2 separate regions of the Homo sapiens genome follow, and region 2 is linked to region 1. Evidence: promoter capture Hi-C in 16 types of primary human blood cells and fetal thymus (Javierre and others, 2016). All regions are on one chromosome and are shown on one strand. The core of a region is centred on a gene start or on the middle of the fragment in contact, and the rest is flanking DNA. Distances in the headings are between cores, read along the strand shown.

Region 1 (6,144 bases), core at 1,469-3,968:
TTCTTCCACAGCTTCGTTTCCACTTCACATTATTGATTTCATGAATTACAAATTTATACATTGTGTACATGTTAACATAGATTTATACTTACTTGTACACATTTGTATTTTAAACGTTGAAGAAGTGTAGAATAAAACCAAACTTTCAAAAACACGTATTTTCACATTTTGCCATATGTATACCTTTAGTAAAGGGCTTCATACTTCTATATGGTTTCAGGTTACTGTCTAAAATGCTTTTATTTTAAGCTGAATTAGTCCCTTTACCATTTCTTGCAAAGCAGATCTAATGGCAATGGACTCTTGCAGCTTTTATCTCACATTGTATTAATAACTTTCTAATTAAAAAAAAATTTTTGCCAAATATAGATTTGTTGGTTGGCAGTTTTATTTTTACCACATTAAATGTATTACCTATTACATCCTTCAAATTGTCTAATCAAAAATCTGTTGATCATCTTGAACAGAATTTATTGTTCTGTACATAATACAGAGTTATGTTTCTCCTGCTGCTTTTAAGATAGTCTATTTGTTGTTGGCTTTTAGAGTTTGATTTTAATGTATGTGGGCCTTGGTCTCTTTATCTGAACTCCAGTTCTTTAAGTTACTCACATATTTAGATTAATGTCTGTTGCCAATTTGAGAACTTTTTGATGATTGTTTTCACCACATAATCTCTCCACCCCCATAGGCTCCTGCTTCTCCTTCTCAGAATCCAATGCTGTGTATACTACTTGGCTTGATGGTGTCCTACAAGCCCTTTAGGGTCTGTTCACATCTCTTTACTCTTTTTTTTTTTTTTTGCCTTAGACTCAAGGATGTAAAATATCTTATCCCTAAACATGTAGATTATATCTTCATTCTGCTCAAATTGCTGTTGAAATCCTCTAGTGAGATTTTCACTTCAGTTATATCGTTCAGCTCCAAAATTTGTTTGGTTTATTTTGTATAATTTCTACATCATTGTTGATACACTCATTTTTCCGTATATGCTTTTCCCAATTTCCTGTAGTTCTATTTCCATATTTTTAATTGGAAATTTTAGCATATTTAAGATAATTGTTTTAAAACCTTTCTCTACTAATTTCAGTGCTCATGGTTCTTCAAAAATAATTTCTGTCAACTCGTTTTCTTTCTTATAAGGGACTGTGTTTTCCTGTTTCTTTATATACCTTATTATTTTATTTGAGCATTTCAAAATATAGACATTTTTCTAACTCTATATAGATTTGTTCTGTGTCATGACGATTATCAACTAATATGCTTGGTATGTTCTTAGTCTTAGCATAAGCCCAACATAAAACCCTAAGGCCTTGTCAGCAATTTTCTGAACTTGTATCTGCCTGGACTGTGTGTGCCCATTAGTAGTTCCCCCAAATACCTACTGGCTTTTGAATAGCTTACTATTTCAAAAATTCACACCCCAGCTTCCCCTCAATGGGTTAGACGGACTATTGCACGTCTCTTCCCCTAATCTCTTGCCCTTGGCATCATACTACATTTCTACTCAGCACCCCCATAAATAAATAAGTTTATTTTAGTCAATTTCAGATCACTTCTTGACGCGTCCATGAGACAAGTAGGGGCCTTTTGATCCACCATATTGCTGAAATCACTCTGTAAAAGCTTTCAATGATTTTATATTATATTGTATCAATGTATAATAATTAACTTATTTCTCAACTTACTTTTTGGTTATTATTTGAGGAAAAGTAAATAGAACGAAATCAGGGCATTGCAAGTTCTGACAACTCCAAGATGTTGATAATGTATTGTGCAAACTACATTCATCATGTTCTAATCTGCCCTCCAAAGGAAGGAACAAGTGAAAACTATCCCACATGAGAATTATTCATCCATTTATATGTAATTAATTTCCAGTTTTTCCTTACAAATAATGTTTAACAAGATGACAGATTATATAAAATGGTTATCAGTTTTTTGGCTAGTTACTTCTTGATAGTCTGTAATAAACCTGGTTGAAGAACAAATACTATTAAGGCACTGCTTGCATATATTAAATGATGTCCAAACTCCAAAAACTGTTAATAATTAACACTCCAATAAAAACTACACCAGAATTTCTTTTTATTTGCACCCTCATCAGGATTACAGCTTTATCAGGACTGCATCTTCTTCAGAAATGAATATTTCTCTTACAACGCAAAGAAAGAAAAATCAAAATAAATTTTCTGATTGAAAATGTAAAAAGGCAAATATTTTTACAGTTTTAACTTTAATTTTTTATTGAGGACCAACTATTTGAAAAATTCTCATTAGTCATTCCTTTAAATTATGTGTATGTGAGAGAAAGACGTAAGATGGTTAATTATTTCAAATGATGCAGTATAAAGAAGGGGCATTATCACGGCAGAAACGAAAAAAGATATTTGTAGCTGGAGGTTTTTATAGTCTAACATATGGTTGCTATTTGTTCTACAAATCCTTTTGAATAATTTAATATAGAGATTTAGAATAGAAAATAATACTTTAGATAGAAATTAATGAGTTTATTATAACCATATATTATAATAATTTACTTAGGAATTCTCTTTGATAAGAAACAAATGAACTGAATGCAATTTTCTCCACAGACCATATAAGACTGCCTATGTACCTCCTCCTACATGCCATTGGTTAACCATCAGTCAGTTTGCAGGGGTGGGGGGAGGGGTTTCCTGCCCATTGTTTTTGTAATCTCTGAGGAGAAGCAGCAGCAAACATTTGCTAGTCAGACAAGTGACAGGGAATGGATTCCAAACACCAGTGTGTAAAGCTAAATGATGGCCACTTCATGCCTGTATTGGGATTTGGCACCTATGCACCTCCAGAGGTAAGAATAATTCCTTTTAGTTTTCGGATTTCAAAAGAATAAACCTAGTAGAAGTGAAACCCGTATTGGGTTGTAAGGTTCGTGTTCCTACCTTACTCTGGATGACTCACTGGTCTAGGTTTCCTAGGCTAGGAGAAAAAAGTAGGCAATCCTTGTTCTGCATTGAGGTCCATTCCTATGGTCACGTACTGCTTATTTTTCGTTTGTGCACTGTTTCTTTCTTCTGTTCATGTCTAGTTCCCAGCTTGGCAGAATATGTAAAACTCAGTATTGAAGAACACTGTTGGTCATCTCCCTCTGGTGGAGATTAATTGCAATAGGAGTGATTTCTCTGTTTCTACAACTGAAGAAATCTTTCCATCTTCCAAGAACATACGATCCAGAGAAATACTTATAGCAAAAATTACTGGATATGGTGTGCACAAAACTGTCGGCAGAGTATCACTGTTCTGATGGGCGGCAGTGAGTGCCACCCAGTATTACCGGACCTGGACTAGAGTTTCCACTGTACTATTTCACTTTTAAAAAGAACTTCCTGAAAGAAAAAAATACCACCTCATTTTAAGTAAAATCTAGAACCTAACAAAGGAAAGTCTAAATTCTTAGTCCTTTTTTGTATGCATCATATTTGTATCAAAGTGGTAGGAGTGGTCTTCTGACACAAAAATGAACAAAATGGAGACCTCATTTTCTAGATAGAACTTGTATTCCAAGACTGTCCTCAGGCTACTAAGTGTGTGAATAGGAACTAATTATTGAAATTTGAGTCTCTCACTTTATCGATAAGTTGTGATGATCTACAAGGATACATTTTCTAGACCAGTGACAAAAGTGGTTTAATTTTTAATATAAATTGGCATGGGCAGGAAATGAAAATAACGACACAACTGAAGCTCCAGCCTTGGTAAACCTTTGAGTGTTGGCACACTTAAAGACTGCTCTCAAAAAAGATTTAAAAAAAAAAAAAAAGACTGTTCTCAGGAGATGGCGGGGAGACCGTTATCTAGTTCCTTGTAATTTCAACGAAACAAGAAAGCTTCTTTAAATACATGTAAAAATGAAAACAGTTTATTTATATTTTTGTCATTAAAAAATACCTTTCAAATCTTTATCCAAATTTGGTCAATAAGTCAGTAATTTTAAATTTCACTGGAATTCTGTCTTTCCTGAAAGAGATAGCCTTATTTTTTATGGCAGAACTGTACCTTAGTAAATTCTTAACAGATTTCAGTGAATTTTTAATGTACAAATCGATATCCTCAGAGTATACATCTTTACCCCTAGTGTTCAGTTCTGTTGTGTAGCCAGAATGACTATGCAGAAAAGACTTAATAGACTACTATTCACAGATGCTTTATTTCCCAAGTGAACCCTAGTTGGGTCGATGTAACTAGCATCCAGTCAAAATCTCAAGAACTGAGACACCAAAGAACATCTCTTGTAGACAGCATTTCCCAAATACGATGTTGGAGGAAGTCTGAGTGAGCATTCTGTGTAATATCACTGGGAGAGAACTCATATGAGCTTGCACCGTTTCCCTTCTATACTCCATGTGATTTTTACCATGTATAATATCACTATATTAAAAATAATTAGGACTATTTCAGTCATGTTAACTTTTCCAACAAATCACTGAATCTGAGGGTGTTATTTGGTACCTCCATAACAGTGATCAACCAGAGATTGCCTGAGACTGAAGGTGTTTCTGGGATGCTCAACCTTTATTACTAACCAGGAAAGACTCAGGCAAACTGAGATGGACTTTTCACCCCACATACAGACAGGAGGAAAAGCTGATTCTTGTATAAAAGTCAATGCTTGTGCCTGAACTACCTCTCAGCCACAGTGATCACCAGATACTACCTTTGGTTGCTCCTCCAGGTTCCGAGAAGTAAAGCTTTGGAGGTCACAAAATTAGCAATAGAAGCTGGGTTCCGCCATATAGATTCTGCTCATTTATACAATAATGAGGAGCAGGTTGGACTGGCCATCCGAAGCAAGATTGCAGATGGCAGTGTGAAGAGAGAAGACATATTCTACACTTCAAAGGTACTGTGTCTATGATGAGCTTGTGTGCACATGTATTTATTGTGATTGTGTGGAGATGACAATTCTATGACTGGATGAGTAGTTGTGGGTGAATTTTGCTTCTGGGTTCAAATTTATTCACACATACTCACATACTAAAACTGAAATCAAAATCAAGGAATGATGATCACTTTTCATTTTGGCTGTGTTCCAATTTATGACCTGAAAGTCCCTTTACTTTTTTGAGCTTCAGCTGAGATCAGTGTGATTTGACATGTGCTATAGAATCACAGAGAACAATAATCATGTTATGGTTTTTCTTATCGCCTGGGTGATTTTCTAAGATTTCTTATTATTCTCTCAATTGCTATCTTTATCAGTGAGATAGAAAGCAATATAAGAAAGCTCTGGGAGTATTAAATAATAGACACTTAAATTGTCCTAAATTGTGTCCAGCATAGTGAGCATGTTCAAAACTTGTTTTACCCCCCTTTTATGTTGCTTTAGTTTCTAAGCAACATAAATAGCTATTCTTAAGCATTGGGTTGAATGGATAGAAGAATTAGACTGTTAAAATGAGTTGTAAACTCTACTGAAGATAATTCAGGTAACATCATAGTTATTACTTAATACTAATCTTTACATTTTAAGAATTTACTCCTATCATTCAGTAGATGTACAAACTATACATCCAACGTATAATAAAGTTTATAAGGATAGGTCAGAGCCAAAGGAATCATGAGAAGGAAGAGAATATGTTTGCCAGTGGTCATAAATTTTGAAGCAGTAGGAAAATATCTAAATACTAGATGGCACAAAGTAATAAGATTTGCTCAAGCATTCATTCAAAATCACCTCCATTCTTTAACCTCTGCAGCTTTGGTCCACTTTTCATCGACCAGAGTTGGTCCGACCAGCCTTGGAAAACTCACTGAAGAAAGCTCAATTGGACTATGTTGACCTCTATCTTATTCATTCTCCAATGTCTCTAAAGGTATGCAGTTTGTATGAGCATAAAATTGCGCTTCTGCTGTCATTATAAACATTGTTTATCTGGATAGTTGAACAGAGCTTTTTATTAGGAGGATGTAGGGATTATCACACAGAAGAAGAACCGTAAGTGGAACACCTAATTTCCTTTCTTTCGAGTAAATTTTGAATCCTACTTCTCTAATGCACACCTACAAGAGAAGAGAGTACAGCAACCTCAAAGCCTCTTCCTCAAAAACTTGAAATTACAATAGTCTCTTTCAAGGCACTGTCTTAGTTGTGGCTTTTGAGTC
Region 2 (6,144 bases), core at 1,242-3,741, 320 kb after region 1:
TCTGATAGAGATTGCATTAAATCTTGTAGATCATTTTCAGGAGTATTGCCCTCTACAGAGAGTTAAGTAGTCTGATCCATGGACAAGGGATGTTTTTCCAATTATTTAGATCTTTAATTATTTTCAACAGTGTTTTGTAGTTTTCAGAGTATAGTTCTGCATGTTTTGCTAAATTTATTCCTAAGTATTTTGTTCTTTTTGATGCAGTTGTAAATGGATTCATTTCTTTTGAAATGGGAAAAGTTCCCTTTTCCCCCTCGCAGGGCGTGCACTGGAGGTGTGCTCGCTTCTTCGGTGCCCTGCTGTTCAAACCTCTAGGGGAACATATAGATAGGCAGGCTGTGGGGCTCCAACCCCATAGCCATGTCTATGGGTGAATGTTTACAGCTGAAGCCTCAGTGGGCTTGTGTTACAGGGTACTCTTAGTTTAGCCATCCGTAGGCGGCTTGTATTCATCAGCTCAGTTAGACCCCTGCCTTATTTCAAGGACAGGGGGCCTTCTGTATCCCAGGGTTCTTGCCTTGATGTACTGGAACAATCAGATGACACGTTGGCTTGGATAATGATTGCAAGCTTTTATAGAGTGGAAGTAGCTCTCAGCAGATGGGGGAGCCAGAAGGGAAATGGTTTTGCCCTGGTGTCAGGTTGCCCGATTCTCCTCCAACCTCCCTGGCCAAGCTCTGCGTCATTCTGCGAATCGATGGCCTGCCAGCTGGCCTGCCAGCGTGCTGGTGTACTCCCACGTCGATGTGTTCCTCTTGACATCCAGCCACCTGTGTGTCTGCCTGCTAGGGTCTCGGGGGGTTTTTATAGGCACAGGTGGGGGCGTGCTTTTATAGGCACAGGATGGGGGTGTGGTGAGCCAGGGTGGTCTTGGGAAATGCAACATTTGGGTAGGAAAACAGAAATGCCTATCCTCACTTAGGTCCGTGGGCCCAGGCCTGGGGATGGAGCCCTAGCAAGGGACCACGCTCTCCTCTACGCAGCACTTCCCTGCCCCGCTTTGTATCACTTTATTTTCAGTTTAATAATTTCAATTGTATAGGAATACATACAATTGATTTTTGTATATCGATCTTGGATCCTGCTACCTTGCTGAGCTCATTAGTTCTAATAGTTTTTTAGTGGTTTCTTTAGGACTTTCTGTGTACAGGGTCATGTCATCAGCAAATAAAAATAGTTTTACTTCTTTTTCCAATCTCTGGATGCCCTTTACTTTTTTCTCTTTCCTAATTGCCCTGGGTAGGGCCTCCTGTACAACGCTGAACAGAAGTGGAGAGACGGGAAATTCTTGTCTTGTTTCTGATCTTAAGGGGAAAGCATACAATCTTTCACCATTAAGTATGATGTTAGTTGTAAGCTTTGTAGATGTCCTTTATCAGGTTGAGGAAGTTCCATTCTGTTACTAGTTTTTGAGTGGTTTTTATCATGAAAGGTTTTAGGGTTTTTTTTCTTTTGTCTATTGAAATGATCATGTGGTTGTTGTTATTACTGATGTGTTACATTAATTGATTTTTTGGGATGTTAAACCAACTTTGCCTTCCTGGTATAAGTCCTGCTTGGTCATTGTGTATAGCTTTTTTAAATATATTGTTGGATCCATTTTGTTAATATTTTGTTGAATATTTTTGTATATATATTCATAAGATATTGATCTGTAGTTTTATTATCTTGTACTATGCTTGTCTGGTTTTGGTATTGGGATAATACTGGCCTCATAAAATCAGTTAAGAAGTATTCCCTACTGTTTTGTTTTTTTTGAAAGAGTTTGTGAAGAATTGGTATTCTTTCAATGTTTGGTAGAATTCAGTGTAAAGCCACCTAGGCCTAGACTTTTCTCTGTGGATAGTTTATTATTATTATTAATTCAATCTCATCTCTTGTTGTAGGTGTCTTCTGATAGTTTGTTTCTTATTAAGTCAGTTTCAGTAGGTTGTATCTCTTTAGGAATTTGTTTCATCAAAGTTATCTAATTTGTTGGTGTACCCTTCCTTGTTCATAGTATTTCTTTATAATCCTTTTCATGTAATGTCAATAGTAATGTCCCCTCTTTTATTTCTGATTCTTGTAATTTGTGTCTTCTTTCTTTTTATGATGATGGTCAATCTAGCTACAGTCTTGTCAATCTTGATCTTTCCAAAGAATGTGATTTTAGCTTCATTAATTTTCTTTGTTCTTCTATTCTTTGTTTTATTTTCACTTTAATCCTTATTGTTTCCTTCTTCCTGCTTAGTAATCTGAGTAATCTGCTCAGATTAGTCTGCATGCTTTAGGTTTAGTTGGCCCTTTTTGTTTCCAGTGTCATGATTATAGATTAAGTTACTGATTTGAGATCTTTTTCTTAATATAGGGATACAGCTATAAATTTCCCTCTGAGCATTGCTTTAGCTGCATCTCATAAATTTTGATATATTGTGTCTTCACTATCATTAATCTCAAATTCTGATTTCTTTTTGACTTCTTTGAGCCATTAGTTATTTAGGAATGAATTGTTTAATTTCCACATAATTGTGACTTTCACAAATTTTTTCTAATTTCATTACATTGCAGCTGGAAAATACACTTTGTATTATGTATTATTTCTATCCTTTTACATTTATTGAGATTGTGCTGTTTTTATATGCACATATGTTTGTAATTGTATCTTCCTGATGGATCAATCTGTTTATCACTATAAAATATCCCTCTTTGGTAACATTTTTTTCTTTGAAAGGCCATTTTGTTTGATGTTAATATAGCTACTCTAGCTTTCTTGTGGCTTGCTGTTTGCATGATACGTGTTTATCCCTTTATTTTCAAGCTGTTTATATCTGTGAAACTAAAGTGTGTCTCCTGTGGACAGCATATAGTTGGATCTTGGTTGGTTGGTTGGTTGGTTGGTTGGTTGGTTGGTTGGTTTTGATCCTGTCTGGCTGTCCATTTCTTTTGATTGGGTTGTTTACTCCAATCACATTTAACGTTATTTATTGATATAGTTGGATTTATGTCTGCCATTTTGTCGTGTTATATATGTCTTTTGTTTCTCTATTCCTCCTTTATTGCTTTCTTTTGCATTAAGTGAGAATTTTCTAATTTATAGCATTTGAATTTCTTTACTGATTTTTTTCATTGACACTGCTTTTACTAGGCTTTTTTGGGTTTTGTATGTGAACTCAGATTACCGTCTGTGGTCACTGGCTTTCAGCCAGAAATTCTTATGGTATTTCTTGTAAGGCAAGTCCGCTACCAACAAATTCTCTGTTTGTTTTTTTTCTTTGTTTTGTTGTTGTTGTTGTTGTTGTTGTTGTTTTTATGGGAATGTCTTTGTTTCTCCTTCATTCTCGAAAGATAATTTTGATAGTATAGGATTCTTTGCTGAAATTTTCTTTTTCTTTGAGCACTTTGAATGTGTTATCACACTGCTTCTGTCTTCCATTGTTTCTGTTAAGAAGTCAGAATCTTTTTGGGGTTCCTTGTAAATAACAAGTGTTTTTTTCTCTTGCTGCTTTTAAGATTTTCTTATCTTTAACTTTTGCCATTTTTACTATGATGTGTCTGTCTGTGGATATCTTTGTGTTATCTTACTTGAAGTTTATTGAGCTTTTTCTGAATGTGTAGGTGGTTGTTTTTCAATAAATTTGGAGAAGCTTCAGCCATTGTTTCTCTGAAGTTTTTTTCTGCTCTTTTCTCTTTTCCTCTCTTTCTGATATTCCCATTATGTGTATTTGAAGGGAAATATAGCAAATAAAACAAAATTTTAATGCAAATATTTAAACCAAGCAGTTCTACCCACAGAAATTTATCTTAAAGTAATGGGCAAGTATACATGGATGTATGTACAAGAAAGTATATCCTAGCACATTTGTGTAGTAGAAAGGTTAGAAAAAACAGGAGGAGGAAGCTAAATACATTATGATATTCTGTACAGTGAGATATTATAATATACAATTTTTATAACTCAGGTGGAATATATTTGGTATGTTGTATAAGATGTATTTGGGATTTTAGGTTGTTTGTTGATACATCTCCTCTATACACCTGTGCAAGTTTCTCTGGGGCAGCAGTTATGTTTTCTATGTAGATATTCCCTACAATATGACAGGCCTCTTAACGTCTTTCTCCTCACCTCCCAGTTCTGGGTAGTAGGCAAAGGTCTTTCTTTTTTATTTTATTTTTTTATTTATTTTTGAGATGGAGTCTTGCTCTGTCGCCAGGCTGGAGTGCAGTGGCGCGATCTCGGCTCACTGTAGCCTCCGACTCCCTGGTTCAAGTGATCCTCCTTCCTCAGCCTCCCGAGTAACTGGGATTACAGGCAAGCGCCACCACGCCCAGCTAATTTTTGTATTTTTAGTAGAGACGGGGTTTCACCATGTTGGCCAGGATGGTTTTGATCTCCTGACCTCGTGAACCGCCCACCTTGACCTCCCAAAGTGCTGGGATTACAAGTATGAGTCACTGTGCCCGGCCAGCAAGGGTCTTTCTAAAGAACCCTAGGTTATACTACATGATTGAGAGCTCAGAACGAGGACTGCTTTTCTGGCCTAGTTTTTTTGATACCAAGTCTGTTCTGGCCTCAGCTTTGATTTACCTAATTATTTTCTGTCTTCTCCTTTGAGAATGTATATTCTTTTAACATTCTTTTAGACTAGAACCCATAGACAAAGAGTAACGTTTAAAGATTTTAGGCATTAAAAGCAGTCAGACTTCCTAGGTTCAAATTCTGGCTCTTAAGGACCTTGGGCAAGTTACTTAGTCTCTAAATCTCACTTCATAGTACCTATGTCTAAGGTCCTGAAAATTGGACACAAGTAATGTTTAAATAATTTTATTTCTGTCTTTCGGGGCCTTAGGGAAAGCCATAGAACTTTACATATCACCCATATGGCAGAAATATAAATACATACTGATCCTTTTAAGGATTTTATATTTTCCTTTTTTGCAGATTTGAAATAATGCTGTCCATTGGTAGAAAAATAATAGTATGACCTATGATCTACCAACAGTGATAAGGCTTACTCTTTGAATTTTGTTTTTCCAGTAAAATTAATTGATGGATTTGTACAGTGGATATCCAGTTAAAGGTATAGCCTTAAATCAATTCTTGACAACCCAGGATCTTTATTATTAGTAGTAGTAGTTGCCAAAAATAAAAGGCATGCTCACAGAAGCTTGTAAGGCCATGTGGTCCCAAATAAGTTGACTATGTTTTTAAATAGTTTATTGAGATATGATTTGTATATCATAACATTCACCCTTTGTAGGTGAACAATTCAGTAATTATCAGTAAATTTATAGAGTTGTGCAGTCATTACCACAATCCATTGTTAGAACATTTCATCACCCCAAATATCCCTGCTCCCACCCCAGCCCTAGGCAGCCACTGATCTGCTTTCTAGCTCTATAAATTTCTATTTTCAGGACATACAAGTGGAATCATACAATGTGTAGTCTTTCTGCTTCTGCCTTCTTTCACTTACATCAGTATTTCATTTTATTGCCAAACCATATTCCATTATATGAATATACTACATTTTGTCAACTCCATTTACCAGCTGTTGTACATTTGATTTGTTTCCAGTTTGGTGCTTTTATGGATAATGCTGCTATGAACATTTGCATGTAAGTCTTAGTGTAGGCTGGGCGCGGTGGCTCACGCCTATAATCCCAGCACTTTGGGAGGCCGAGGCGGGTGGATCACCTGAGGTCAGGAGTTCGAGACCAGCCTGGTCAACATGGCCTGTCTCTACTAAAAATATAAAATTTAGCTGGGCATGGTGGCGTGCCCCTGTAATCCTAGCTACTCGGGAGATTGAGGCAGGAGAATCGCTTGAACCCTGGAGGCGGAGGTTGTAGTGAGCCGAGATCGTACCACTGCACTCCAGCCTGGGTGACAGAGCAAAACTCCGTCTCAAAAAAAAAAAAAGTCTTTGTGTAGACATACGTTTTCACTCCTCTTGGGTAAATTCTTGGGGGTGGAATTATCAGGTCCTACGGTAAACTTACCACTAACATCTTAAGGAATTGCCACACTGTTTCCAAAGAGTACTGGATTGTTAATGATGGAAGCCTTCAGAATTTCTCTTTCCTTCTGTTACTTGCTGTTGTCATTATCCCCTGTTCCCTCTTCCCTGAATTTGCTGCTGTGGGCAAGGCCTGAGAATTAAT

What was found. Contacts are between HindIII fragments. The CHiCAGO score rates a contact against its expected background, and 5 or more counts as called.
Region 2: a fragment that was not itself captured here is called in contact with the fragment with the promoter of AKR1C3 in region 1 in 5 of 17 cell types (endothelial precursors, M2 macrophages, M0 macrophages and 2 more); the score reaches 8.0 in endothelial precursors.

What each region holds. Positions count from the first base shown.
Region 1 is chr10:5,091,696-5,097,839 of GRCh38, forward strand. It overlaps AKR1C3 (aldo-keto reductase family 1 member C3), which reads left to right and starts at 2,719. Exons shown (of 9, transcript NM_003739.6): 1 at 2,719-2,833; 2 at 4,715-4,882; 3 at 5,739-5,855. The coding sequence starts at 2,750. It overlaps LOC124900291 (U8 small nucleolar RNA), which reads right to left and starts at 1,848; the gene lies at 1,713-1,848. RefSeq lists an enhancer at 2,562-2,856. The HindIII fragment of the contact is 2,243 bases long and covers 1,625-3,867 here.
Region 2 is chr10:5,416,448-5,422,591 of GRCh38, forward strand. All of the region lies in intron 1 of NET1 (neuroepithelial cell transforming 1), which reads left to right. Among named protein-coding and RNA genes, the nearest start is that of NET1, 7.0 kb to the left of the region's middle. RefSeq lists an enhancer at 4,767-4,936. The HindIII fragment of the contact is 2,266 bases long and covers 1,359-3,624 here.